6 separate regions of the Homo sapiens genome follow, and all the other regions are linked to region 5. Evidence: promoter capture Hi-C in 16 types of primary human blood cells and fetal thymus (Javierre and others, 2016). All regions are on one chromosome and are shown on one strand. The core of a region is centred on a gene start or on the middle of the fragment in contact, and the rest is flanking DNA. Distances in the headings are between cores, read along the strand shown. Region 1 has its middle 68 kb from the start of EID3. Region 2 overlaps TXNRD1 (thioredoxin reductase 1). Region 3 overlaps LOC124903003 (a long non-coding RNA gene). Region 4 overlaps TXNRD1 (thioredoxin reductase 1). Region 5 holds the start of ALDH1L2 (aldehyde dehydrogenase 1 family member L2). Region 6 has its middle 32 kb from the start of CHST11.

The links. Contacts are between HindIII fragments. The CHiCAGO score rates a contact against its expected background, and 5 or more counts as called.
Region 1: a fragment that was not itself captured here is called in contact with the fragment with the promoter of ALDH1L2 in region 5 in 16 of 17 cell types (activated CD4 T cells, total CD4 T cells, naive B cells and 13 more); the score reaches 9.9 in activated CD4 T cells.
Region 2: a fragment that was not itself captured here is called in contact with the fragment with the promoter of ALDH1L2 in region 5 in 3 of 17 cell types (naive B cells, monocytes and total B cells); the score reaches 5.7 in naive B cells.
Region 3: a fragment that was not itself captured here is called in contact with the fragment with the promoter of ALDH1L2 in region 5 in 8 of 17 cell types (non-activated CD4 T cells, naive B cells, naive CD8 T cells and 5 more); the score reaches 6.2 in non-activated CD4 T cells.
Region 4: a contact is called between a fragment that was not itself captured here and the fragment with the promoter of ALDH1L2 in region 5, in 15 of 17 cell types (total B cells, total CD8 T cells, endothelial precursors and 12 more). The highest score is 13.9, in total B cells.
Region 6: a fragment that was not itself captured here is called in contact with the fragment with the promoter of ALDH1L2 in region 5 in 7 of 17 cell types (endothelial precursors, total B cells, activated CD4 T cells and 4 more); the score reaches 7.7 in endothelial precursors.

What each region holds. Positions count from the first base shown.
Region 1 is chr12:104,369,050-104,373,478 of GRCh38, reverse strand. No RefSeq gene overlaps it. Among named protein-coding and RNA genes, the nearest start is that of EID3, 68 kb to the right of the region's middle. RefSeq lists enhancers at 1-682, 683-1,440, 1,441-2,197. The HindIII fragment of the contact is 2,950 bases long and covers 1,234-4,183 here.
Region 2 is chr12:104,252,984-104,257,128 of GRCh38, reverse strand. The region is part of intron 2 of TXNRD1 (thioredoxin reductase 1); the gene reads right to left. Among named protein-coding and RNA genes, the nearest start is that of TXNRD1-AS1, 26 kb to the left of the region's middle. RefSeq lists an enhancer at 552-721. The HindIII fragment of the contact is 8,597 bases long and covers 1-4,145 here.
Region 3 is chr12:104,400,654-104,404,882 of GRCh38, reverse strand. LOC124903003 (a long non-coding RNA gene) reads right to left here. Exons shown (of 2, transcript XR_007063434.1): 1 at 4,220-4,229; 2 at 2,990-3,262. Among named protein-coding and RNA genes, the nearest start is that of CHST11, 54 kb to the left of the region's middle. The HindIII fragment of the contact is 3,430 bases long and covers 1-3,131 here.
Region 4 is chr12:104,348,572-104,352,953 of GRCh38, reverse strand. TXNRD1 (thioredoxin reductase 1) reads right to left here. Exons shown (of 17, transcript NM_001093771.3): 17 at 2,647-4,382. Among named protein-coding and RNA genes, the nearest start is that of EID3, 47 kb to the right of the region's middle. The HindIII fragment of the contact is 1,164 bases long and covers 2,032-3,195 here.
Region 5 is chr12:105,082,860-105,087,246 of GRCh38, reverse strand. It overlaps ALDH1L2 (aldehyde dehydrogenase 1 family member L2), which reads left to right and starts at 2,789. Exons shown (of 23, transcript NM_001034173.4): 1 at 2,789-2,858. The coding sequence starts at 2,811. RefSeq lists a silencer at 2,482-2,911 and enhancers at 3,412-3,651, 3,146-3,946. The HindIII fragment of the contact is 2,214 bases long and covers 1,600-3,813 here.
Region 6 is chr12:104,422,611-104,426,419 of GRCh38, reverse strand. No RefSeq gene overlaps it. Among named protein-coding and RNA genes, the nearest start is that of CHST11, 32 kb to the left of the region's middle. The HindIII fragment of the contact is 5,119 bases long and covers 1-3,809 here.

The DNA.
Region 1 (4,429 bases), core at 1,459-3,958, 710 kb after region 5:
ACTGCACTCCAGCCTGGGCGACAGAGTGAGACCCTGTCTCAAAAACAAAAAAAAAAAGAGGTAGGCTGGGGAACGGGAAGCTGGGGACAATGTGCAAGGCTGCCAAGACTGCAGTGCACAAACGAATTTGCCCATCCTTCACAGGGGCTGCTGGGGGACCTCTGCAGACCTCCATCCACCCCCAACCCCAGGGCCTGACCCTCTTCACCCTTGGTGGGAGCTGGCTCCCACAGGGGAGGGATGAGCTGAGCACACTCACTCTTTCTCCTGAGCTCCTTAAATCGGGTAACTCTCTCCTCTCCTGACAGAGGCCGGGATGCTGCTCTCCTCTGGGGGCCCTTCTGCATGGACACATAGATGGAGACCTAAAGCTCATGGGCAAGGTTGGCCAGTCTCTGCTGCTTACAGCTCCCTTCCCCCACCTGACACGCACTCCTAACACTCATCTCCTCTCAAAGCCCAGCCTGGCCCTGCTGGGCTTCCAGGGCCTTGTCAGAGGTCCTTCCGGGCCAGGGAAGTCTTGGTACTGCCCGTGCAGCACCCAGGGGCTGGGAGACGGCTGGAAGTGGCTGGACGGGGAAGGGCAGGATTCTCTCCTCAGCCAGCATCTGCTTCCACCCTGGCGCTGCTGGGACTGCCATTCAGGAAGGTGGTGGATTCCGGGGCAGATGATCAGGAGGCAAATCCCGCTCCCCCAGCTGCAAGCTGATTTTCTGTCACATCATGGTGGCTTCAGCATGGCTGAATTAACTGATTGAATCCTTCCTCTGTGCCAGGCATGGCGCTGGCCTTTTGACATCTTTGCTCTATTGGATCCTCTGAGCAGCTCTAGGGTCCAGGAGCATTCATTGTTTCTCCTTCACACATGAGGGTAGATGACTTCTCCAGGATCACTATGCTAATGGGCAGTGACTGAGTTCAACCCAAAATGTGTCTGACTCCAGAGTTGTAGTTCCCAGCCTTTCTGCTTTGTCGTGTATACAGCACCTGGTAAGCCTTCCCCACCCCCTTCCCTAGTCTCTTTTGCCTTCTTTCCTGAAAATGCATGAATTGCTTTCAAAACCACTTCTTGCATTAACAAAGAGGAAATAAAGAGGTTCTCAAGATGTCTCTGAGACAAGGGGTCCCCAGCCTCTGGGCTGTGGACCGGTACTCATCCGCTCTGTGGCCTGTTAGGAACTGGGCCCCACAGCAGGAAGTGGGGCGAGTCACTGCGGGCAAGTGAGCGAAGCTTCATCTGTATTTACAGCCGCCCCTTATCCCTGGCATCATCGTCTGAGCCCCGCCTCCTGTCAGATCAGTGGTGGCATTAGATTCTCATGGGACCATGAACCTTATCGTGAACTGGGCATGCGAGGGATCTAAGTTGTGTACTGCTTATGAGAATCCAACTAATGTCTGATGATCTGAGGTGGAACAGTTTCATCCCAAAACCATCCTGACCCCCCTCACCCCCCGACCGTGGAAAAAATCGTCCTCCATGAAACCGGTCCCTGATGCCAAAAAGGACTGCTGTCTTAGACCACACAAGACGTTCATAGTCATCGTCAGGAAAAAAGTAGCATCCCTCAACGGCCAGACCTTCCATCTGCTGCTGGTTCACACGTAAGAATCACCAACACTAACACAGCACGTTCTAGAGGCCAGCCCCCGTCCTCGATACCTTACTTACCCAGAGTTAACTTATTTACTAATTAACTTTCCTTACTTCCCTGAGTTAACTTATTTTGTCCTGACAACCACACAAGGGAGGTGCTGCTATTGCCACCCCCATTTTCCAGCTGAGGATGCTGAGGCACAGAGAGGTTAAACAATATGCCTGAGGTTACACAGTAAGTGATTCATCCAGGATGTGAACCCAGGCTAGCTGGTGTTAGAAGCTGCGGGTGTAGCCACATTCCTCTAATTCCTTGTGACAAAGGAAAACAAAGAAGCCCATCCGTTTAGGGAACCAGGATGCTGTCGTGGTTGGCAGTGGTGGTATTTCCGTCAGTCCTTTTGGCATAAATACCTCTAGATTATGTCACAAAACAGCCCCTGGCAACTGTCCCTTATTTCCTAAAAAGGGGTGGCAAGGTGGCAGGTGGGGCTGGCTTACCGAAGCCTTATTCTCCTTCTCAACTAGTAGACTCGCCTTATTCTCAAACCCAAGTTCTTGACCCTTCTTAGCCCCTTTATTGACTCTCCCTGATTCTCAAGTGTCTCCCTGCATAAAACATGCCATTTCCATAATGTGGCCTTTCTTACTTCTGGAGACGTCTCTTCCTCGCAAATATTGACAGAGGCTTTCCCTGCCGCTGAAGTAACACTCGCCCCTACCCAGGCGGCATTCTCTGCTCCCCTGTATACCTTGAAGTGTACCTACAGGGTTGTTCACTGATTTTATTTGCAGGAAGAACTGACAGGCCCCTCGAACTTGGAGCAAACAATGAACAGAACGAGGATTGAAAGAGGTGAGATTTTTAAAGTAAATGCTTTAAAAAGCAAAATGTGTGGTGGCTCATGCCTGTAATCCCAGCACTTTGGGAGGCTGAAGCAGGAGGATCACCTGAGCCCAGGAGTTCAAGACCAGCCTGGGCAATGTGGTGAAACCCTCTCTCTACAAAAAAATACAAAAATTAGCCAGTGTGGTGGTGTGTGCCTGCAGCCCCAGCTACTTAGGAGGCCGAGGTGGGAGGATCACTTGAGCTGAGGAGGCTGAGTCTGCAGTGAGCCTAGATTGCACCACTGCATTTGAGCCTGGATGGCAGAGTGAGATCCTGTCTCAATAAATAAATAAACAAATAAATAAATAAATAAAGGAAATACTTAGACTGCTTAATGATGATTTACTTCAAATCCAAACCTTCCAAATAGGAAAAAAAAAAGAAAAGAAAAGAAAAAGAAAAAAGAAAAAGCAGGCTGCTTTAGGACGATTCACTTTGCTTTCCCTTTTGGCAGCTCTGATATTCTGCATGATGGCTAAATGATAATGAGTCCTTATGACAACTGCTGGGGAGAGACGGACCCTGGATGGGGTGTGGGGCACAGATATGAAACACACATCCATTTTGCCTACCTTCCTTCACTGCCTAGTGGAGTCTCTGCTTTATATGCTGAGATAGACACTCTTCATGTGCTCTATAGATTAGAAAAGCTAAAACTCGGCCAGGCGCAGTGGCTCACGCCTGTAATCCCAGCACTTTGGGAGGCCAAGGCAGGCGGATCACGAGGTCAGGAGATCAAGACCATCCTGGCTAACATGGTGAAACCCCGTCTCTACTAAAAACACAAAAAATTAGCTGGGTGAGGTGGCACACGCCTGTAGTCCCAGCTATTCGGGAGGCTGAGGCAGGGGAATGGCATGAACCCAGGAGGCGGAGCTTGCAGTGAGCTGAGATCACGCCACTGCACTCCAGCTTGGGCAACAGAGTGAGACTCTGTCTCAAAAAAAAAGAAAAGAAAAGCTAAAACTCACTTTGTCAGCTTCCCTTGCAGCTAGGGATGGCCCAGGACAGAGATCTGGCCAATGAGTTAAAAGCAAAAGTGTGTCAGGCAACACCAGGATGGCTGTGTAAAGGGTAGAGAGGCAGTCCTATCTTTCACCCCCTCTTCTTACTGCCTTACTAAATACAGACTTGATGGCTGGAACTACAGCAGCCATTTTGTGACCATGAGGGAAAGAATGAGAAAATTGCAAAGAAGCAGATCCAAAACCTCTGACATTACTGAGATGCTTCTCCAATGTCCACACCCAACTGGCTGCGACTCCTTATGTCAGAAAAATGAACATATATTTGTTTAAGCCCCTGTTAGTGGGTGTTTGTTACTTAAAGCCAGGAACGTGCCTACTTAGGTGTTATTATCTCCATTATTCAGATGAAGAAAGTGAGACCCAAGCCAATGAGTGTCTTGTTGAAGGTCCCATTGTTAACCAACAAAACGTAACTGAAGTTTTTCCATGCTTTGTCCTGGCCTCTCCCCATTATTTCTCAGCTGCCTCCACCAGCCCAGCAGAAATTCCATGCAGCAGAAGAATCTATTGACCATGAATGACTGGTACTTCATTCAAGCAGTTAAGGAGTTTCCCTGGGTCAGTGGTCCAAGTGTCTGTGTGCAGTTGGCTCCCTCAATGTTCATATGTTACTCAGTTGGGCCTTTGTCATTGAAAGCGAAGAGGACATTGTCTTGGCTGTCAGAAGCTTTGGGACTGTTCTTTAAGTCTGGCTTAAGTAATAATCAGTGACCTTTCCCTTCTCAGCTTAGAGGTATGGTTGAGATCAGTCATTGGCACCCCCAGGTCCTGACCACCATCTTACTATACAGTGGCAGGGAAAAGGACAACTGGACATTTACTGTGTCCAAAAGGGATGTAATGACCTTGCCCTCCTTCTGCCTGTGTAAATGCTTGTGTGGACTCATCCCTTACAGGCCGACCCAGCAAGACTTC
Region 2 (4,145 bases), core at 1,621-4,120, 830 kb after region 5:
TTTATGTACAAGACACAAACAGCCTGTCAATAATTTAGGAAAGTTTAGAACCATATTCCTCCAGTTATACAATAAAATTTAAAAGGCCAGAGTAGCCTGAAGTTCACAGAGATGATCAATGAGGAAAATGATTCTTGAAAAAAAAAAAAAAAGAAAAGAAAATATATTCTCATCTCATTCTAAACTTAACTACTAAAACAGTACTTCCTATTGTATGGAAGTACACTCGGAGATTTCTATCATTTCTATAGGACCAAATTCAACATTTTGATAAAATGGGAAAATATGTTCATTCATACAACCTCATTAGTCTTCTTTTTCTTTCTTTTTCTTTTTCTTTTTTTTTTTTTTTGAGACAGAGTCTCACTTTGTCACCAGTGGAGTGCAGTGGCACTATCTCGGCTCACTGCAATCTCTGCCTCCCCGGGTTCAGGCGAGTCTCCTGCCTCAGCCACCCAATTAGGTGGGGTTACAGGCATGCGCCACCACACCCAGCCAATTTTTGTATTTTTAGTAGAGACGCGGTTTCACCATGTTGGCCAGGATGGTCTCTATCTCCTGACCTCGTGATCTGCCCACCTCGGCCTCCCAAAGTGCTGGGATTACAGGCATGAGCCACCATACGCAGCCAGTAGCCTTTTTCTTAAACTCTTTTAGATGTCACCTAAGCCCCAGTCTGAATCTGAATTCAGTTCCCCCCACCACTCTGAAATAGCTATAAGAAATAAATATTGCAATTCTGAAAAGGTGGAGAGGGATTATCTTTGCACTTTAAAACCTCTTCACAGCAAGATGCACGCAAAACACATATGGTAACTAATGTGTTATGCAAGAGCGGAAAGCTACCTTTACGTAGACGTTAGTTTCCTTATGGGCACTTCCCACCTTGAATTAATGCAAATGACATTACTCATCCCATAGAGAAATACACATTCATCAGACCAAGTACAAATATAAAAACAAAGTTTCTCTATTCTGATTTACTCATATCCCAGTTGTTAAATGAGATGATTAAATAAAAACTAAAGAAAATAACCTGGGAAAATTCTACTTCAAGGTAATTTAAATAAATAAATAAATGTGAACAGCTAAGTATATGAGTTGTACACCCTCAGAAGAAATTCACCACTTTACCAGGAAAAGCACCTAATCATCTTTCATGGCCAAAGACATCGAAAATTAATTTCCAAATTAACTGGCACCAATCTGAAAACAATCTGAAATCAACAAGGTAAAACCAGGGGATGTTTATCTAGAAGACTTGACATACCCAGGGATTGTTTGGATAATGATATTAAATAAATTTGCCAGGATGACTATATGTTGTTGTTGTTGTTGAGACAGTTTCACTTTTGTTGCCCAGGCTGGAGTGCAATGGTGCGATCTTGGCTCACTGCAACCTCTGCCTCCCGGGTTCAAGCAATTCTCCTGCCTCAGCCTCCCTAGTAGCTGGGATTACAGGCATGCATCACCAAGCCCGGCTAATTTTTGTATTTTTAGTAGAGACGGGGTTTCTCCATGTTGGTCAGGCTGGTCTCCTGACCTCAGGTGATCCGCCCGCCTCGGCCTCCCAAAGTGCTGGGAGTACAGGTGTGAGTCACTGCGCTCGGGCAACTGTATGTTTAAATAAGCATGCAAATAACTAACCAACAAATGTTATAGGAAAAGTTCTTCATTCCCAGGCTAGTTTTAATTAAGTAAAACTGGGGGAAATATAGGCAAGGCTTTACATTTTCAGGGATAGGCAGGAGAGCTGGGAAATGAGGGAGTTAGTAGATTTCAGAGATAACAGTAAGAATAAGAACATTCTGGGGCATAATAGGGACTAAAAAAAAGAAAAGAAAAAAAGAACAATGATAGGTCAAAGAGATCTGGGATTGCAAGGAGCATACTGACTATCTACCACTAGTAGCAATCCTGACCGCTAGCCCAACTTTTCATTCCAGAACTACAGCAGGGTTAAAATTGGAATTTTCTGTTTATTTATTTATTTCTTAATTTTTATTTTTTTTATTTATTTATTTAGATAGAGTCTTGCTCTGTCACCCAGGCTGTAGCTTAGAGGCACGATCTTGGCTCACTGCCCCCTCAGCTTCCTGAGTTTTAAGTGATTCTCATGCCTGTGCCTCCTGAGTAGCTGGGATTACAGGCATTCACCACCATGCCTGGCTAATTTTTGTAGTTTTAGAAGAGACAGGGTTTCACCATGTTGCCTAGGCTGGTCTTGAACTCCTGGCCTCAAGTGATCTGCCTGTCTCAGCCTCCCAAAGTGCTGGGATTACAGGTGTGAGCCACTGCGCCCATATGTATTTATTTTAGAGACAGGGTCTCACTCTGTCACCAAGGCTGGCGTGCAGTGGTATAATCATAGCTCACTGTAACCTTTAACTCCTGGGCTCAAGTGATCCTCTCACCTCAGCCTCCTGAGAAGCTAGGACTACAGGCACATGCAAACCATGCTGATATATATATATATATATATATTTTTTTTTTTTTTTCCATAGACATAGAGTCTTGTTATGCTGCCCAGACTGGTCTCGAACTCCTGGCTTCAGGTGAACCTCTTGCCTTGGCCTCCCAAAGCATTGAGATTACAGGCATAAGCCACTGTGCCCAGCTCCCGATTCTTTAATAATGTTTGAAAATATGAGTAGAGTGACCGAATGCCTGGCACATAGTTGGCACTCAAATGGTAGCTATTTACCCACTGATAGGATTAATTGTACTTAGCATTATGTCAGGTATTTGTTGATTACCATTTAATCTAGCCTCAGTACTGACAGAAGGAAGATTAACCACCCAAGGTTTTAAGTCCTGATAGGAAAAGGAAAAATGCAAGTAGTTCTTTTATTTAACAAACACTGATATAGTGTTTACTATGTCTCAGGTATGTTCTATGGCTTTTATAAATATTAATTAATTTAATCCTCATAACAAACTTACGATATAGATACTATTATCATCCACATTTTACAGATGGGGAAACTGTGGCACCACAGGTAAATAACTAAAGTCACATGGCTGATAAATCACAGAGCCAAGATCCACACTCTGACTTTAGAGTCCAGGCTCTTAACCTGTTTGGTAACGAAAAAGACTAGACAAGCACGTAATTTCAGAACTAAGAAAACCCTCAGGCTGGGCGCAGTGGCTCACGCCTATAATCCCAGCACTTTTGGAGGCTGGGGTGGGAGGATCACGACAAGCTCAGGAGTTCGAGACCAGCCTGGCCACATAGTGAAACCCCATCTCTACTAAAAATACAAAAATTAGCCAGGCATGGTGGTGTGCACCTGTAGTCCCAGCTACTTGGGAGGCTGAGGCAGGAGAATCACTTGAACCAGGAGGCGGAGGTTGCAGCGAGCCGAGATCACACCACTGCACTCCAGCCTGGGCAACAGAGCGAGACTCTGTCTCAAAAACAAAAACAAAAAAACCCTCAATAAGCAACTAGTTCAAGCCCTTCATTTTAAAGATTAAAAAAAAGGAAGTGGCAGGCGGTGCGGGGGAGGGGCAGTAGGTCCCAAAAGCAGATAAGAATTGCAGAGCTACATAATTAAGCCCCTAGAGGCCAAGAATTACATAGCAGATTTCTAATGCCCAGCCCTCTTCTAAATTCTCTAGCACTTGCTGCCTGTCCAATCATGTAGAATTTAGCATGGGTTATCTGAGATCATTTTTCTTCTTAAGCCTATGTTCTGCCCTCAGTTGAGCTAAACCCCCAGGGATGGGACTGTGTCTTCTGCCTCTTTGCAATCCTACTCCCAATATGATGTCCTACATGAAAGGCATCACTATCATATTGATAGGGATGAAGCCTAAGGTGGCATCGATGCAGAATGTGTTCAGGAGAGACACAAGGATGAAAGGGTCTCCGTACCTCAGTGTTTTTGCCGCCCACCTTCCTTTTTCTTTACTTGGGAAAAAAGTGCACGTGTGCACAGACACACACACATGCAGAACGAGAGAGAGAAACAGAGAGAGAGAGTCCAAAAAGCCCATAAGCCCATTTATTTCTATGTAAGGCTTCCAGAATAAAAAGACTTCTGAATTCAAACTCCTTGAGATCTGGAAAGTAAGTCATGGGGCAGACAAGTTGAGAGAAAATTAAACTTAATAATAAAATCGGCCGGGCGCGGTGGCTC
Region 3 (4,229 bases), core at 167-2,666, 680 kb after region 5:
GTACCACCCTGCGGTGCTGAGTCCTGATGGGCCCCAAGCCCCTGTCCCTCCAGGAGCTTCCTTTATGATCTGAACAAGTCCTACTCTCAATGATTGGAGAAAAAGTTTTTTGTTTTTTTTTTAAATTTGAGACAAGGTCTCACTCTGTTGTCTAGGCTGGAGTCCAGTGGCCTGATCGTGACCTCCTTGGCTCAAGTCATCCTCCCACCTCAGCCTCCCAAGTGACTGGGACTACAGGCATAAGCCACCATGTCTGGCTAATTTTTTAATTTTTTATAGAGACAGGGTCTTGCTCTATTGCCCAGGCTGGTCTTGAACTCCTAGGCTCAAGCAATCCTCCCAGTTCAGCCTTCCAAGATGCTGGGATTACAGATATGAGCCACCTGCCTGGCCCTAGAGAAAGATTCATAATCCAGTGTCAGGAATTTGTTCCAAATGCTGGCTTCATCATTTGAGGAAGCCTGTCTTCCTCCATGGGTCTTAGTTTCTTCATCCATTTGGAAGGACAGGCTGGATCTGCAGTTCCCAGGGGGGTACTGTCCCTATGAGGTGTTTTGGAGATCTTCCAGAGCATCTCTGATTATCACAATGATTAGAGACACCATTGGCTTTCATGGGCATTGGCAGGCAATGCCTGGGACAGTCTTGCACAGCAAAGAACTGCTTCATGTCCCATGTGACTTTCAAAAACCCCACTGCACATTCCCATACCTGTGTGACTTTGTGAAGTCACTTTGCTTCTTCATACTTTTACTTTCCTCTTTTTTTTTTGAGATGGAGTTTCGCTCTCGTTGCCCAGGCTGGAGTGCAATGGCACGAACTCGGCTCACTGCTACCTCTGCCTCCTGAGTTCGAGCGATTTTCCTGCCTCAGCCTCCCAAGTAGCTGGGATTACAGGCATGTGCCACCACACCCGGCTAATTTTGTATTTTTAGTAGAGATGGGGTTTCTCCATGTTGGTTAGGCTGGTCTCGAACTCCCGACCTCAGGTAATCCGCCCGCCTCGGCCTCCCAAAGTGCTGGGATTACAGGTGTGACCCACCGTGCCCAGACTACTTTCCTCTTCTTTAGCTAAGAAGTATTGTTCTCAAGGCTCAGGCCAGGTTGGGCAGTGTAGGAGTCTATGAGAGGAATTCAGATAAGTATGTTCATTCATAACAAATATTTCTTGAGCACCAACCAAGCACTGGGTTCTGGGTTGGATGCTGGGGATACAGCACTCAGTCAGACACATGTAGTTCTTGTCTGCACAGGGCTCATAGCCCAGTGTACTCAAATCTGTGATTCTGGAAAGGATGTTATGCCCCTTTAATAATTAACACTCAGTCTCTATTTATGTGGCCCCATTAGGTGCTGGGCATGGAGCTACTACTAGAGATTCAGAGATGAAGGGCAGTAGGCAAGTAAACAGCAAACCAGAGGTGGTGGAATCCATCCTGTAATGCAGGTTGCATATTACAAGATGAGAGCTACTATTTGTCACATACTTACTATGCGCCGGACCAGGAGAGGGACTTTTGTTGTTGCTGTAGAGACAAGGTCTTACTCTATCATCCAGGCTGGAGTGCAGTGGCACAATCACAGATCACTGCAGCCTCCACCTTCCGGGCTCAAGCAGTCCTCCCACCTCAGCCTCCTGGGTAGCTGGGACTACAGGTGCACATCACCATGCCTGGCTAATTTTTTGTACTTTTTGTAGAGATGGGGTGTTGCCACGTTGCCAAGGCTTGTCTCAAACTCCTGGGCTCAATCGATCCACCTGCCTTGGCCCCCTAGGCCAGCTCACGAGAGGGACTTCACATACACGATGTCATTTGAGCCTCACAATAACCACATGGAGTAAGCCAGCCTGTGTGTCACTGTCACAATTTTTGCCATTTCCACCTGCTACCTTTTGTTATTTACTTGACATTTTTCTTTAACCAACTTGCATAATTAAACCAATCCTTGTCCTAAGTGATAATATCTCTGAAATCATAAGGCTGATGAGGTTTTTGTGTGTGTGTATTTAATACTTTGTTGTGGTCTGAATGTGTGTGACCCCTCAAATTCATGTGTCAAAACCCTAAACCTCAACGGGATGGTATTAGGAGGTAGGGCCTTTAGGAGTTGATTAGGTCAGGAGGGTGGAGCCCTCATGAATAGAATTGGTGTCCTTATAAAACGAACCCCAGACACACATACGTGATGGAATACTATACCATATTATACCATACTATACCAATACTATACCATACCATAAAAAAGAATGAGTTCATGTCCTTTGCAGAGACATGGATGAAGCTGGAAGCCATCCTTCTCAGCAAACTAACACAGCAACAGAAAACCAAATACCACATGTTCTCACTCATAAGTGGGAGTTGAAAAATGAGAACACATGGGCACAGGGAGGGGAACATCACACACCAGGTCCTGTTGGGGGAAGGGGGGCAAGCAGAGGGAGAGCATTAGGACACATACCTAATGCATGTAGGGCTTAAAACCTAGATGATGGGTTGATAGATGCAGCAAACCACCATGGCACATGTATTCCTATGCAACAAACCTGCACGCTCTGCACATGTATCCCAGAATGTAAAGTAAAATAAAAATAAATAAATAAATAAATAAACAAAATTTTTTCAAAAAAGAGACCCCAGAGAGCTCTCTAGCCATCTTTCCATCATGTGAGGATGCAACAGGAAGTTGACAGTCTACAATCTGGGAGAGGGCCCTCACCAGAACCCAACCCTGCTGGCACCCTGATTTTGGACTTCCAGCCTCCAGGACTGTGAGAAATAAATGTTGCTTAAGCCACCCAGTCTATGGTTCTTTGTTAATAAAGAAATACCTATAAAACAAATATGTAATACATCAAGAAAGCATACCTATAAAACAAATGTGTAAGAAGTGAACATTTTAAACTGTTTGGGTATACTGAAATCATCTTGTGTATCAGACACTGGGAAATGCTGGGTAGATGGGCCTGGGTAAGGAATGCTAGCTGCTATAAAAGCAACATGCCCAATGTTTATTTTTCAATCATGTCACGTCCAGTGTAGCTGATTAGGGGGTGGAGGTTCTCCACCAAGTCACTCAGGGACTCAGGTTCCTTCCATCTAAAAGCTCATCCTCCTGGAGCCTTAGAAGCTTCCCCCTGGATTCTCAGCTCCCAGCTGACAGGTGTAGGAAGAGAATTCATCACATGCTATTGGTCAGAGTCCATCAATATGACCCCTCCCTAACAGTGGGGACACTGGCATGTGTGGTTTGTCCATGGGCCCTGGAGGAAAGAAAAACAAGTTTTGCTGAAGATCTAGCATGGTCTCTGCCACACACAGATAAGAATTTCTACTTTGGAAACACTAAGGCAAGAATTTCCATTTTACAAGGGAGGAAATAGAGGCTTTAAAAAGCGAAGTGCTGCTGAGTGTGGTAACTCATGCCTGTAATCCCAGCACTTTGGGAGGCCGAGGCGAGAGGATCACCTGAGGTCAGGAGTTTGAGAACAGCCTGGCCAACATGGTGAAACCCCGTCTCTACTGAAAATACAAAAATTAGCCTGGCATGGTGGCGGGCGCCTGTAATCCCAGCTACTCAGGAGGCTGAGGCATGAGAATCACTTGAGCCCAGCAGGCCGAGGTTGCAGTGAGCCGAGATCATGCCACTGCACTCCAGCCTGGGTGACAGAGTGAGACTCTGTCTCAACAACAACAAAAACAACAACAACAAAAATTAAAAAAAAAAATTTAAAAAGGCTGGGCACAGTGGCTCATGCATGTAATCCCAGTACTTTGGGAGGCTGAGGTGGGCGGATCACCTGAGATTGGGAGTTTGAGACAAGCCTGACTAACATGGAGAAACCCTGTCTCGACTAAAAATACACAATTAGCCGGGTGTGGTGGCGCATGCCTGTAATCCCAGCTACTCGGGAGGCTGAGGCAGGAGAATTGCTTGAACCCGGGAGGCAGAGGTTGCGGTGAGCTGAGATCGCACCATTGCACTCCAGCCTAGAGGCAACAAGAGCAAAACTCCATCTCAAAAAAAAAAAAAAAAAAAAAAAAAGAAGTGCCTTTCCCCAGGTGACACAGGTATTAAGAAGTAAGGCTGGATCCAAGCCAAAGCCTATGTTTCAACCTCCCTCTCTCTGTGCCCCTCAAGGATTGCCATAGTGCTATCTCCTGTGAACTCACTCCTGACCTCCAGATCTGCACCTCAAACCTTCAGCAGATGTCCTCACCTGGTGTCCC
Region 4 (4,382 bases), core at 1,364-3,863, 730 kb after region 5:
GCTAGACGTGACATATGACAGAATTTTAAGCCAGAAGCTATAAATGTAGCATCTATGTGTATATTTTAAAAATCAAATATTGGGAAAAAAACAAATATTGAGGAAGAGCTCTGGCCTTAAACACATCTTACCTGAAATCCAACCAGAAAGCCAGTCCATGATCTTTTAGCAATTTAAATTCATTGTATTAAAAAAAATTATGAATGCTAAGTGAATCCAGGGACAAAAAGGGCACCTTTTTTATTAAAACTACAAAATAAACTGGCTTTGTTAAAACATGTAAAAAAATTTCAAATCATTTTCGAAATGTTTGATATGCTGATCTTCACTGTTTTCCGAAGTGATTGAATAATTTACATCCCCACCAGCAATAATAATAAGTGTTCCAGTTGCTCCATGTCTTTGACAACACTGGATACTGGCACTCTTAAATCTGCCATACAATGGGTGCATGAGGGCTCTCCACAGAAACAATGGATTTTATACATATGTGTGTACATAAAATATGGAAAGAGATTTTTAGGAGGGATTGGCTCATGTGATTATGGAGCCTGAAAAGTCCCACAGTCCCATCTGCAGGCTGGAGGCCCAGGAGAGTGAGTCATGGAGTTTCAGTCCAAACCTGAAGGCCTGAGACCAGGGAACCAAGGGTGCAAGTCCTAATCTGAGTCTAAAGTCCCAAGAACCAGAGCAGCAAGGTCTGAGGGCAGGAGAAGATGGATCTCCAAGCTCAAGGGCAAAGAGTAAATTCACCTTTCTGCCTTTTGTTTGATTTGGGCCTCAAGGATTAGACAATGCCTACCCACATTGGTGAGGGTGACCCTCTTTACTGTCTCCTGATTCGAATCAGTGTTAATCTCTTTCAGAAACACCCTCACAGAAACATCCAGGAATATTTTACCAGCTCTCTGGGCATCCCTTAGCCCAGTCAAGTTGACACATAAAATTAACCATCCAGGCTAGGACAGTGGCTCATGCCTGTAATCCTAGCACTTTGGGAAGCCAAGGCAGGGTGATCACTTGAGCCCAGGAGTTCAAGACCAGCCTGGGCAATAGAGCAAAAAACCCAATCTCCACAAAAACTTAAAAAATTAGCTGGGCATGGTGGTGCATGCCTGTAGTCCCAGCTACTTGGGAGGCTGAGGTAGGAGGATGGCTTGAGCCCAGAAGGTCAGAGGCTGCAGCGAGCTGTGTTCGCACCACTGCACTCCAGCCTGGGAAACAGAACAAGACCCTGTCTCAAAGAAAAAAAAAAAGTAGCCACTCACAGTGGGTATAAAATGGTATCTCACTTCAGCTTGATTTGCATTTCACTGCAATTTAATTTGCATTCCCCCTCACTAGTGAGGCTGACTTTTTTTCTGTTTAGGCCCTTTCTACTTTCATTAACATTTAAATCAATGGCTCCTGACATAACAGGAAGAAATTAAAAGGCTTCCTATATGGCCATCTCTGATAGTTATGGCTCTACCTGTCAATCCAATTACACCAATGTTCTAAGTGCTTCTGTAGTGCCAGACCTTGTGCTAGAAGCTGTGGGGCACACAGAGGTAAAGAACCCTCATTATCTAGTGGTGGTGACAGAAACACACACTACACTCCATGCAGAGTAATTCAAAGAGCTCTAGAGACAATACAGAGTACCCTGGGAGTAGAGGTAGAGAACCAGCTGGAAGTTACGCAGAGCAGGTGACCTTTGAGGGAGGCTAGTAGTTATATGGGGACATAGAGCAGGTGTAGCCAGAACAGGCAAGGGAAAGCGCAGGCTAGAGCTGCAGATAACAGGTTCAGGGTCTGGCAGGGGACTGTGGGTCTAGTTACAGGCCTTGGGAAAACCTCAAAGGCTTGAGACAGGGAAGTTCAGGCAATAAGAGCCTGGCTCTAGTGGGAAGTAAACTGGCGGTGGAAAGTCCAGTTAGGAAAGTGTTAGAACATCTCAAGACAAGGTATTTATTAAGCGTGTAGACAGCATTGCTTGACGGCATGTGAAAATGTGAAGTCCCAGGAATTGATGCAGCAGACCTAAAAGCTTCCATTTGTCAGAGATGAATGGGAGGCTGCACTGCGAGGTAACTAAGAGGTAGCGCCTTTGAGGTCACAGACCCAACTCTGGCCTCAAAAACGTGATGCATTAACTGGCTGTGTAATCCTAAGAAAGTGACTTACACTTCTGAGCCTGTTTCTCCATCTATAAATGGGTACAAAAGCACCTTCTCTAATAGGATTGTTGTAAGGATCACATCAGCCAGGGTGTGTCAAGCACAGTGCCTGCACGTGTTGCAGTAAACACTCATTTAGCTGTTGTTATTACTAGCACCCTGCAACTACTTACCACAAAAACAAGTACAAACTGGGAAGGTTTTTGGTAAAGATTACATAAAAGAGGAGTTTCTGCTTAAAAAGTGATACCTAAGAAGATTAAGTGCATGTGAATGCATAATCTGAACATGGTAATCAACATTTCTGGAAACATTTATTGACCATCTATGTGCCTGATACTGCCAGAAGATGGGAAATGGCAATGAACTGATTAGTTCTTCTATACTTAAATCAGCATAGCATCATTGGAGCCTACTCAGCAGCTAGCTTTTCAACACAATATCAGAGATCTACTCAATACTCTTGCAAAGACTCCCAAGACCATCATTCAGTAAGAAGGCACACGTGGATATTATTAATGCCTTTTAATTTTAATGTTTCACATTGTTTTGTTTTTTTTCAGAAGATTTGTAACAAAAATACATGGAACTTAGTATATGTTTCAATAAAATGGGTAAATACAGAATCTGAACAAGACAAGTCTATAAGATATAATCCTTCTTGTGGGGATAGAACATTCCACTCCACTAAGAAAAGAGAATCACAACATGATTAGGCCTGATTATCTCATACCGCCTACTGTTCTAATTTCAGAGACTGGTGGACTTGGAGAAAAAAACAAATTAAAAATAAATAAATAAAACTGAATATGGTCAACTGCCTCAATTGCTCTCTCCTTTTCCCTTTTCCCATTTCTTTACACAGCCAAATGAGATGAGGACGTGAGGCAGAGCCCTGTGGGGGACGGTCAGGGGCTCTGCTGCCTAAATGCCAGGCAGATGCATGGGTTCCCTGAGGTGGCCCAGAAATGTATTTTGACCACTCAGTGCTGCAACTGAGAAATACAGGTAGAGTAGCAGGAATGAAAAAGAAGCTTCAAGAACTGCTGGCAGGAGGCCTGATGTCCACAAGCACGTGTTCAAAACTCAACCTACACAGTTAGAAAAGACAGCTGAGATAGAATCCTCAGCCAGTACATTGACAAACACATAACTGAGGCATTAATACCTCTTTATAATAATGCAAGTTGAAATGCTAACAAAGCATAAACACTTCTGCAAAAATTCCACAAGGCACAGTTGTTCATTCAACAGAAAAAGTCAAAACCACTTGGTTTTTAAATGAAAATCCTTCACATCCACCTGTGTTCAAAATATTAATAATAACTTATGATATTAATAACTTCCTTTAAAAAGCAATTACCACAAAACAGCTAAATCATAAGCATGAAAAGACTTATTTTCCTACTAATGTAGTCTTAGAAAGAAATAGATACCCAATGTCATTATTTTTTTTAGCATAAAGCTAAAGCTACCAGAAAAACTTTTAAACAAGTTACGTGTTTTCCATTGCAAATGATCTCAGCTTGCTTAGACCAGCACACAATAAACTAAAGACAGAAAGATATGTACTGTTTCTCCCCCATTTCTGGTGTATGTCTGCCTCCATGACAAATAATGGTGAGAATCATACTATACTACCAAATGCCAGGCAATGGCTGGCCAAGTAGCCATTTCCCTTCCTAAACAGACCTTAAAATAATAATCATCCATCATGTAGCACACAGGGGCAAATTTGGCTAGAGTTGATCGCAGATGTACTTGTTTTGGGAATATATGAGAGAAGAAACTGCTGAGCAGGTCAGTAAAGAACAGTCCATTTCAGCTGCAGGACAGTTCTCTTTCCCGGGACAAGCCTACATAGCCTCCAAGGGAGCCAAACTATCCCTTCCATGCAACAAGACACCTTGCATGGATACTCTAGCCATGACTTGCTTTTGGACAAAAATCAACTGCTAACGTTTTTCATCTCTAATATCATTAACACCATGGAGAAAAAAGAAAAAAATTCAACCCTAGAAAACTTGACAACGAGAATAAGAAAATCCACAAGGAAAGGTCATGCTAAAACTGATTTGACAGTTGTTCCATCACCGCCTACCACATGGGCTTGAGACTGGTGACTTCATGGATGCATCCCTTCGATGCCCTGCCAAATGTCAGCTTCAAGTCTGTCAGTGACCCCAGTGTGATGCTGCCTGCCTTCTATTCACCAACTCCTAT
Region 5 (4,387 bases), core at 1,540-4,039:
AGGGTCTCACCCTGTCACCCAGCTGGAGTGCAGTGGCACAACCACAGCTCACTGAAACCTCAATCTGCCAGCTCAAGCGATCCTCCTTACTCAGCCTTCCGAGAAGCTGGGACTAGAGGCACGTGACCATGCCTGGCTAATTTTTGTATAATTTTTGTATTTTTTTGTAGAAACAGTGTTTCACCATGTTGCCCAGGCTGGTCTCGAACTCTGCCCACCTCATCTTCCCAAAGTGCTGGGAATACAAGCGTGAGCCACCACGTCCAGTCCAATGTTCACTTTAAATTTGCTCACGTCTTTGCCTTTTTTGTTGGGCTTCTTGCATTTCTAGGTTTCCATGTGGGTAAATTTTTTTTTCCTGCTGGAAGGATACTCTTTCATATTTCCTTTATTGTCTGTCTGCCGATGACAAATTCTCTCAAGTTTTTGTTTCTAAAAATGGCTTTGTCTTATCTCTATTTTTAAGGAGTATTTTTGCTGGGTATAGAAATAGATTGGCAGGGGTTGGTCTCTTTGTCAAACTCTAATTGCATCTGATCTAATTTCCAGTTATCAAGGAAACTATACTTTTGATTCTTCCAGGGAAAAAGTAAACACAATGAATATTTCATTATATTTGAGTGAACATAAATTCTACATTTCCTAAACTTGGGAATAGTAATATATAACTATGGAACCTCATTCAGGAAAAAAAAAAAAAAAAAAAAAAAACCCCTCCTTATGCACCCTTCTAGTATACACAGATCAGAATAAATAAAGGGAATATCAATATTTGGAAGTTTAAAAAAGCAAGAAGTCACAAAATGCAGTCAGGAAAGTGGGTTGAATTGGCAAGATGTAGGGCTCAAAGCAAAACCTTGGATGTTTGTTGCAATTCTCCAAGTTTTTTTTTTTTTGAAACAGAGTCTCCCTCTGTCGCCCAGGCTGGAGTGCAGGGGCGCGATCTCGGCTCACTGAAAGCTCTGCCTCCTGGGTTGACGCCATTCTCCTGCCTCAGCCTCCCAAGTAGCTGGGACTACAGGCGCCCGCCACACGCCCGGCTAATTTTTTGTATTTTTAGTAGAGACAGGGTTTCACCGTGTTAGCTAGGATGGTCTCGATCTCCTGACCTCGTGATCCGCCCACCTCGGCCTCCCAAAGTGCTGGGATTACAGGCGTGAGCCACCGCGCCCAACCGCAATTCTCCAAGTTTTAATGATGGTTCTTTTTTGTCTCCTTACTCTCTTAAACACATTCATCCGTTTCAACAAGTTTTTTTTTAACAAGTTATTTTTTATTTTATTATTATTTTTTTAAAGCTCTGGTTAGTGCTAGATACTGTAAATCCTGATTAATCAGACATGGACTTAGCTTGCAAGGAGCTTCCAACAGAGACGTTAATAGGTATACAAATACCAGTAGCAGATTGAGACAGCCATAACAGATGCATAGACAAAGATTATTTCCTGTTAAGAGGAGTGAACAATTATTTATGGGGAATAAGGAGACTAAGAGAGAAAAGAATCAGAAAAAAGCGCCTCCAGGAGGCAGCATGTAAGCGGTACCTTTCAGAAAAGAAACGGTCGTGCCAAGATAATTACAAGTGACAGATGACAAGCTTTTCTGGGAAACATTGTCCAAGAAGGAATAGGCAAGAACTGCAGTCAAGCAGAATTACATATGCAAAAGAGCAGTGAGAAATAAGAGAAAATGGCAAATTGCAGACGGCCCTGAATGCTGGGCTAAGAAGTCTGGCTTGAGATAAACGTCCAGCTAAAGCAGGTCTGAGCGTTTTTTCCAGAGAGGTGAGGGAGAAGGGCACGTATCTATTAGGTTGATGCAAAAGTAATTGCGGGTTTGCCATTATTTTCAGTGGCAAAAACCACAATTACTTTTGCACCAATTTATTTATTTATTTTTAAGACAGAGTCTCGCTCTGTTGTCCAGGCTGAAGTGCAGTGGCATGATCTCAGCTCCACTGCAACCTCCGCCTCCCCGGCTCAAGTGATCCTCGTGCTTCAGCCTCCCGAGTAGCTGGGACTGCAGGCATGCGACATCACGCCCGGCTAATTATTTTATTATTTTATTATTTTTTATTTTTAGTAGAGACGGGGTTTCACCATGGTGGCCAGGCTGGTCTCGAACTCCTGAGCTCAGGCCATCTTCCCTCCTCGGCCTCCCAAAGTGCTGGGATTACAGGCGGGAGCCACCGCGCCCGGCCTACCGTCCTACGAGGTAGGCATCAGGATCCCTCCACAGCGAAGGCGCCCCCACTACCTATCTGTCTACAGGCGTGCCTTTTACGGGCTGTGCTATGGACAGCACTTGGGATGTCAGATTGACCACTAATAAGGTAGATCCGTATACACTGCTGCGGGGCTGAGTAACTGGTAGAGGGTCCCACAGTTAGAAAGCACCTGGACCTTGGCTGGAATTGGCGGAAAGTCCAGGCAGCGGAGAGGCGCGGTCCCTGGGACTGGGTGCGCTCTTGGCACCAGGGTCAGGGCCCACAGGCTCCAGGAAGCCCACGCGCTCCGCCGGGTCGCACCAGGTTGGCTGTCCGAACGCAGCCAGCTGGCGGGGCGGGGCCTTCCAGCTGGGGGCGGGGTCTTGACAGCTAGGGGGCGGGGCCTTGCAGCTGGTAGGGTGGGGCGGGCCGCGGGCTGTGGGCTTTGGGAGGGGTGCGGACTAGCAGAGGCCGAGAGCGGCGAGCCGCGAGCCAGGCAGTCCGGGGCATCCAGACTGCAGGCCGCGCCCAGGCCGCGCCCAGGCTGCGCCGCCCGCCTGCCTCCCGCGCTGCCGCGTCGCCAGTGCTAGCGCTCCTCTCCAGCATGCTGCGGCGGGGCAGCCAGGCGCTCCGGCGCTTCTCCACTGGCCGGGTGAGTCCGGCCCGGGCGAGCGTCCCGGCTGTCACCCTGTCCTGGTTTCCAGACTCCGGGGCGGGAGGGCCGGGGCGGTGGGGCTGGGGATGAGCAGCGATGCTTAGACTTTGCTAAACACCAAGACAGCGTTTAAAACAAACAAACAAACAAACAAAAACAGAGAGACCTCAGAGGAGGGCTTGGGGAGGGTCCCGGATGGGAACTGGCACGCAGGCCATTGTCTTCTGCCGGGAGGGGGCTGAGGATGCAGTTTTTGGACGTGTCAAGTCTGGCTGGGATGGCAAGGTGGGAACAGTCACTTGGTAAGGAGGACAGAGTCTGCTTCCTTTCCTTTTTCACTTCAATCATGAGATCCCTGGTCAAGAGCTGGAGCCATATGGAACCGAGACTGTCTCCTGGAGGAGGGGAGTATCAAGTCAATAGGGTCCTCGTTGGCGGCCTGGGAGGTGTAAGCGCTCGAGACTGGCACGCAGGGCCGGTTCAGATAATGGCACTCAAAGCTGATGGCTGCAAGCTCAGTATTCCTGAGCTGAGCTGCAGATGGCAAAATTTCTAGAATTGCCAGGCGCTGCAGAGGCAGCCACGCTGGAACACTATTCTACTGTAGCACAAGAACCGAGCTCTGGCCCAGCCCCGCGCCTTGGAATTGCATCAGCTCCTCCAGAAATGGAACCGAGAGAGGACACGTTGCACTGCGGTGCTGCCTTCAGCACCCAGGGGGCCTCGGGACTGTTTAGGGAAGAGAGAGAGAGAAAAAAAAAAAATAAAAACTGTCTTATGTATCGTATCTTTTATAGGAAGTACATAAAAGAATTTGCTTATCGATTCTTTTTCTCGGCCATGCCAAAGCCATATGTACATATGTATATATTCAGATGTAAAAAACTTGGAGGCAGAGAGAAGTCTTGAGTAGCACCAAAAACTGGCCCAAACTTGCATCAAAGGAAAAGCTTTCTGTATCCCAGACAACCCCAAATAATAAGAATTCGTTTTACTCTTTGCAACCAGTTCTAGTTACTTTGAGGTATAGTCACCTTTTATAAAACGAGGGGTGGGGGTGGGGAAGACCTGCTCTGCTAGGACTTTGGCCTGCTCTCCTGGACCCCTCATTAGCTTCCCCCACCACGTGGCACATGGGATCCCAGATGGATAGCACAGAAAGCAACGGGCTGTGCCCAATGCCTGAGCCTGTTTTGTTGGCCTCCTCTGTCAACACCTTTCACTGACTTGTCTTTTTTGGTGACCAGAAGGAAGTCTTGCAGAATGAAAAGATTTTGATAGTGCGGTTTGCATAAGATTTCAGTAATAAAAGGTAAACATCTCAGGTGGCAAATGGCATAAACAAAACTATGGATGTGGGGAAGAACTGGCGTGATCAGGGTCTAACTGTACGCAGGGGTGCATATGGAAAAGCAGTGATACTCATGGCTGGGAAGAAGACAGTTTCCTCAGTGGTCGAAAGGAAGCTACTGAGTGGTGAATGAAAAATGTGGGATGTTTTATCCTGTAGAAAATGTTCTGGACTG
Region 6 (3,809 bases), core at 1,276-3,775, 660 kb after region 5:
TCTTCTCTCATCTTGGCATGGCTTCTTCTCCATGAATGTCTCTCTGCTATCTCTTAAAGACACTAGTCATTGAATCTGAGGCTCACCCTGATCCAGAATGGCCCCGTCTTAACTAATCACATCTACAAAGACCCTATTTCCAAATAAGGTCACATTCTGAGGCCCAGGTTGATGTGAATTTGGGGGGATACTATAATCCAAAACAATGGTCTAGACCTGCATTCACCCAGGCCTGGGTGGGTGAATTGGCCTAATGCAGAGTGAAGGCAGGCACGTATGGATTAGTAAGCAGAGTGGGCACATATGGATTAGTAAGCTGTTGGGTCAGACGTAGGCCACCCATCTGCTATCGCTTCATCAATAATAAAGGTCAGAAGGGAGTTCTGACAAATCTCTGCCTTCTGCAGGCAGCAAAACACCTTGTGCTCCAGTGAGAAGTGAGGAAGAACAGTAGCTTGCTTTGAGTGCCCTTTAAGACCCTGTGGTCCTCCAGGTGCCCCCCTGGCCATCCATCTGGGAGCAATCAACATTCTCCAGCTTCCCTGGGTAGTTCTGTGCTGTTCAATTATGCAGCTACCAACCCCGGCATGTGAGCAGAATTTCTAACCAAAACCCCTACCCTGCAACAGAGAGGCGTATCCAAGGAGACTGGCAGGTAAATGCGAACACGATAAATCAGGATCTTGATGCTGCATTCTTATTGCCTTTTTCCTCTGAAGGGACTTCTGTGCTGTCCTCTCAGCAGACTTGTTACAGATGTCATCAAACCTTGGGTGGCACCTGAATGAGAATGTCACCCCATGTAGTTCCAGAACTGTTAGGATACAATCCTCTTATTCTGGAAACCCAATTCCAGCTCCCTGCTGAAGATCTGGCTTGGTTGGGAGGGAGGGAGGAATCAATACTACCGCAGAAGGATCTCTCGACTCTTCCTTTCTGTGCAGCTTCAAAAAGACTATTTTAAAGATATTTGCATATGCCTTCATTTTCAGGTCACTGAAAAGATTCTACCTAACCAAGCATAAGAACTTAGTCCACTTATAAGCCCAAAAGACAAAGATGGTGGCAATATTTTTTTACAATGGTTACTGTCAGAAAATTGGAGTTGAGTGTCTGGAGTTGAGCAGAGGAAATTCACATTTGAACTAACAGTAAAAGAAATAATAAATATTCTTGGCCCTCAGCTCATATTGTAGGCATTGGATCATCCCTTCTCTGACTCTAACATCAAGTTTACAAGGTTTTTCCTTCTTTTAATTCCCCACCTGGCCGTGGTACTGAAACTTTTAGTCTGGTGCAGGGAGTGTCTTCACCACCATATGTCACTGCTTTGTCATTGATAGTTTCTTCTACAGAACTTGTGTAAATGAAGAAGCAATTGGGAACTTCCAGTGTGTGTTCTGACCCTGCAAGTGGGCCACTAGTGGTATCCTGAGCCCTGAAAACCTGTAACCTGACAATATTGCTAGTTCTGGTGGAATATGTTATTGTATACATGTTGCTTAAATTAAAGCCACCCTCACTGGTATCTCATCAAAACCAGTCAGCCTACTGTGCATTCTAGAGGATTTCTTCTACAGAAAAAATGCAAGTGCATTGTCTCAGGGATAGGACCCATCCTCAATACAATTAACAGTCTCATTGGGAAAAATTTCAAAATGCAGGTGAACACATCGACAAGCCCTTGAACTGCATGGCAGCGGGAGGAGGTTGGCTCTGAAGTCTAAGCAAAGATGTGCAACATTTAAATTACCTGAGAAAATCCTTTAAATGCTCATCAGGTACACAGTCTTCCTCCTGCATCTCTACAAAGGGCTAGCATGATTAGTTTTCCCTCCAATACTGGGGCAGATTTCTGTTTCTTTGGTTGTCCCCAAAGATGAAACAGCAGGCTTGTACTTGGAAGATATTTCATATAATGATGTATCTTTTAGGCACTTTAAGTGCAGAGGCAGGATGCTCACACCACACAAGTTGCATGGAAAGTAAGACTGGGGGAACAGTTGAATCTCTTCTCTCCCTCTGGGATGTAGACTCTGGCTTTTTACCTGTCCTCCATAAACATGTGGAACCACTGCTCATTTTACCCTGCACACACTGTGGTTTTCCACTTGCTAACTTGATCAAGGATGCCTTTCTCCACAGTCTCTCTCCTATTCAGCTCATGTGTCACCTCCTCCACGAAGCCTCTCGAATCAGCCTCCCTTGCAAAGCTGGGTTATATGACCCTCTGTATCCCACAGGATCCCGTTCGTCTCTCTATCATTATGCACTATTTCATTAGAGAGTTTCTGTTTCTGCCTCATTACACGGTGAGCTCCTGAGGACTGTAGCTGCGTCTCACTCAACTCAACATTGCCACATATATTGGCGTCTAGAAAGTGCTGGGTAAATGTTGAGTAAGTAAACAAATGGTTGGCTTTAAAGGATGGCTAGGGTTGAAATAGACTGATAGGGTATTCTGGGCAGGAACAAAACTATGTGCCTGGCACAGAGTAAATTTTCAAAAAAAGGAAACTGCTACTATTGTTTGTAGTGCTTTCTGGAGAAATGGAAAGACTGATAAGGCCCCAAAAGCACTTCTTGAGTGGAAAAATCAGATCCAGCATGGTTTTGTTTTTTTTTTTTTTTTTTAGAAAGATCTGCTAACTGTCATGATAGTGACATGGGGCCAGCTCCCTCAGTGAGGTTACTGAAGTCATTGAAGACTCACAGACTGGTGTATGTCAACAGAAGGTGGGCAGAACCAACTTGTAGGGACTCAGTTGCCTTTCCCTAAGCCAGTGTACAAACAGAAATGCTGATTGATTTTCCTATTCACCACAGGAATCATAGCTCCTTTTTGCAAAGTAGACCCATTCGTTTCTCCCAGGCAGGTCTTCAAAGGAGGCTCTAAATTTGAGAGACATTCGCTCAGTCATCAAATGATTGAAGTGGCAGGGATCTGTGGTTCTTGAGAAACATTCCTATTCTAAGGCCAGGTGCAGTGACTCATGCCTGTAAATCCCAGCACTTTGGGAGGCTGAGGTGAGAGGATTACTTGACCCCAGGAGTTCAAGACCAGCCTGGGCAACACGGTGAGACCCTCACCTCCACAAAAAAAAAATTAAACAATTAGCCATGTGTTTGTGGTGCACACTTACTATAATCCCAGCTACTTGGGAGGCTGAGGTGGGAGGATCGCTTGAGCCCAGAAGTTCAACCAGCCTGGGCAATGTAGTGAAACCTCATCTCTACAAATTAAAAAAGTAATAAGGTAGCTTGAGGTAGTCAGAAAGAACCTCTCCTCATCTGAGAGGGTCAACATTTTTTTGTGTGTTTTCTCTGTCTCTGCTTTCTGTGAATATCTATGCCCCTTACACCCCTTCTGGACTCTTCCTTTAGGCATATTAATGAGTTAGTCTTGTCTTAATTGTGCCTAGGAGCCATTTCCAGGTTAAAAGAAAAAAAGACCATGTCTTTCAGGAGTTTACCCTTGTAGGAAACACAGACTTGTAAAAATAATTTCAAAATAAGGGAAGTGCTGCAGGAAAGCTGTCTTTGGAACCAGAAAGAGGGGGAAAAGGGAAAAAGAGTAAAATCAAAAGAGCTGGGTGTGACTAATACTAACATAAACCAAAAATAAAATTCTAAGTCCACAACTGGCCAATGGACCCCACCCTCTTGGCCAAGGGCATTCCAAAGTTAACCTGAAAAGCTAGTTCAAGCCATGATGTGAAGTGAGGTTCAGACATGCCTCATTATACCCTCCTCCCATTGGAATTTAGGCACAGCTGACTAGCATTAACATAAAAAGAGAGACCTTAATA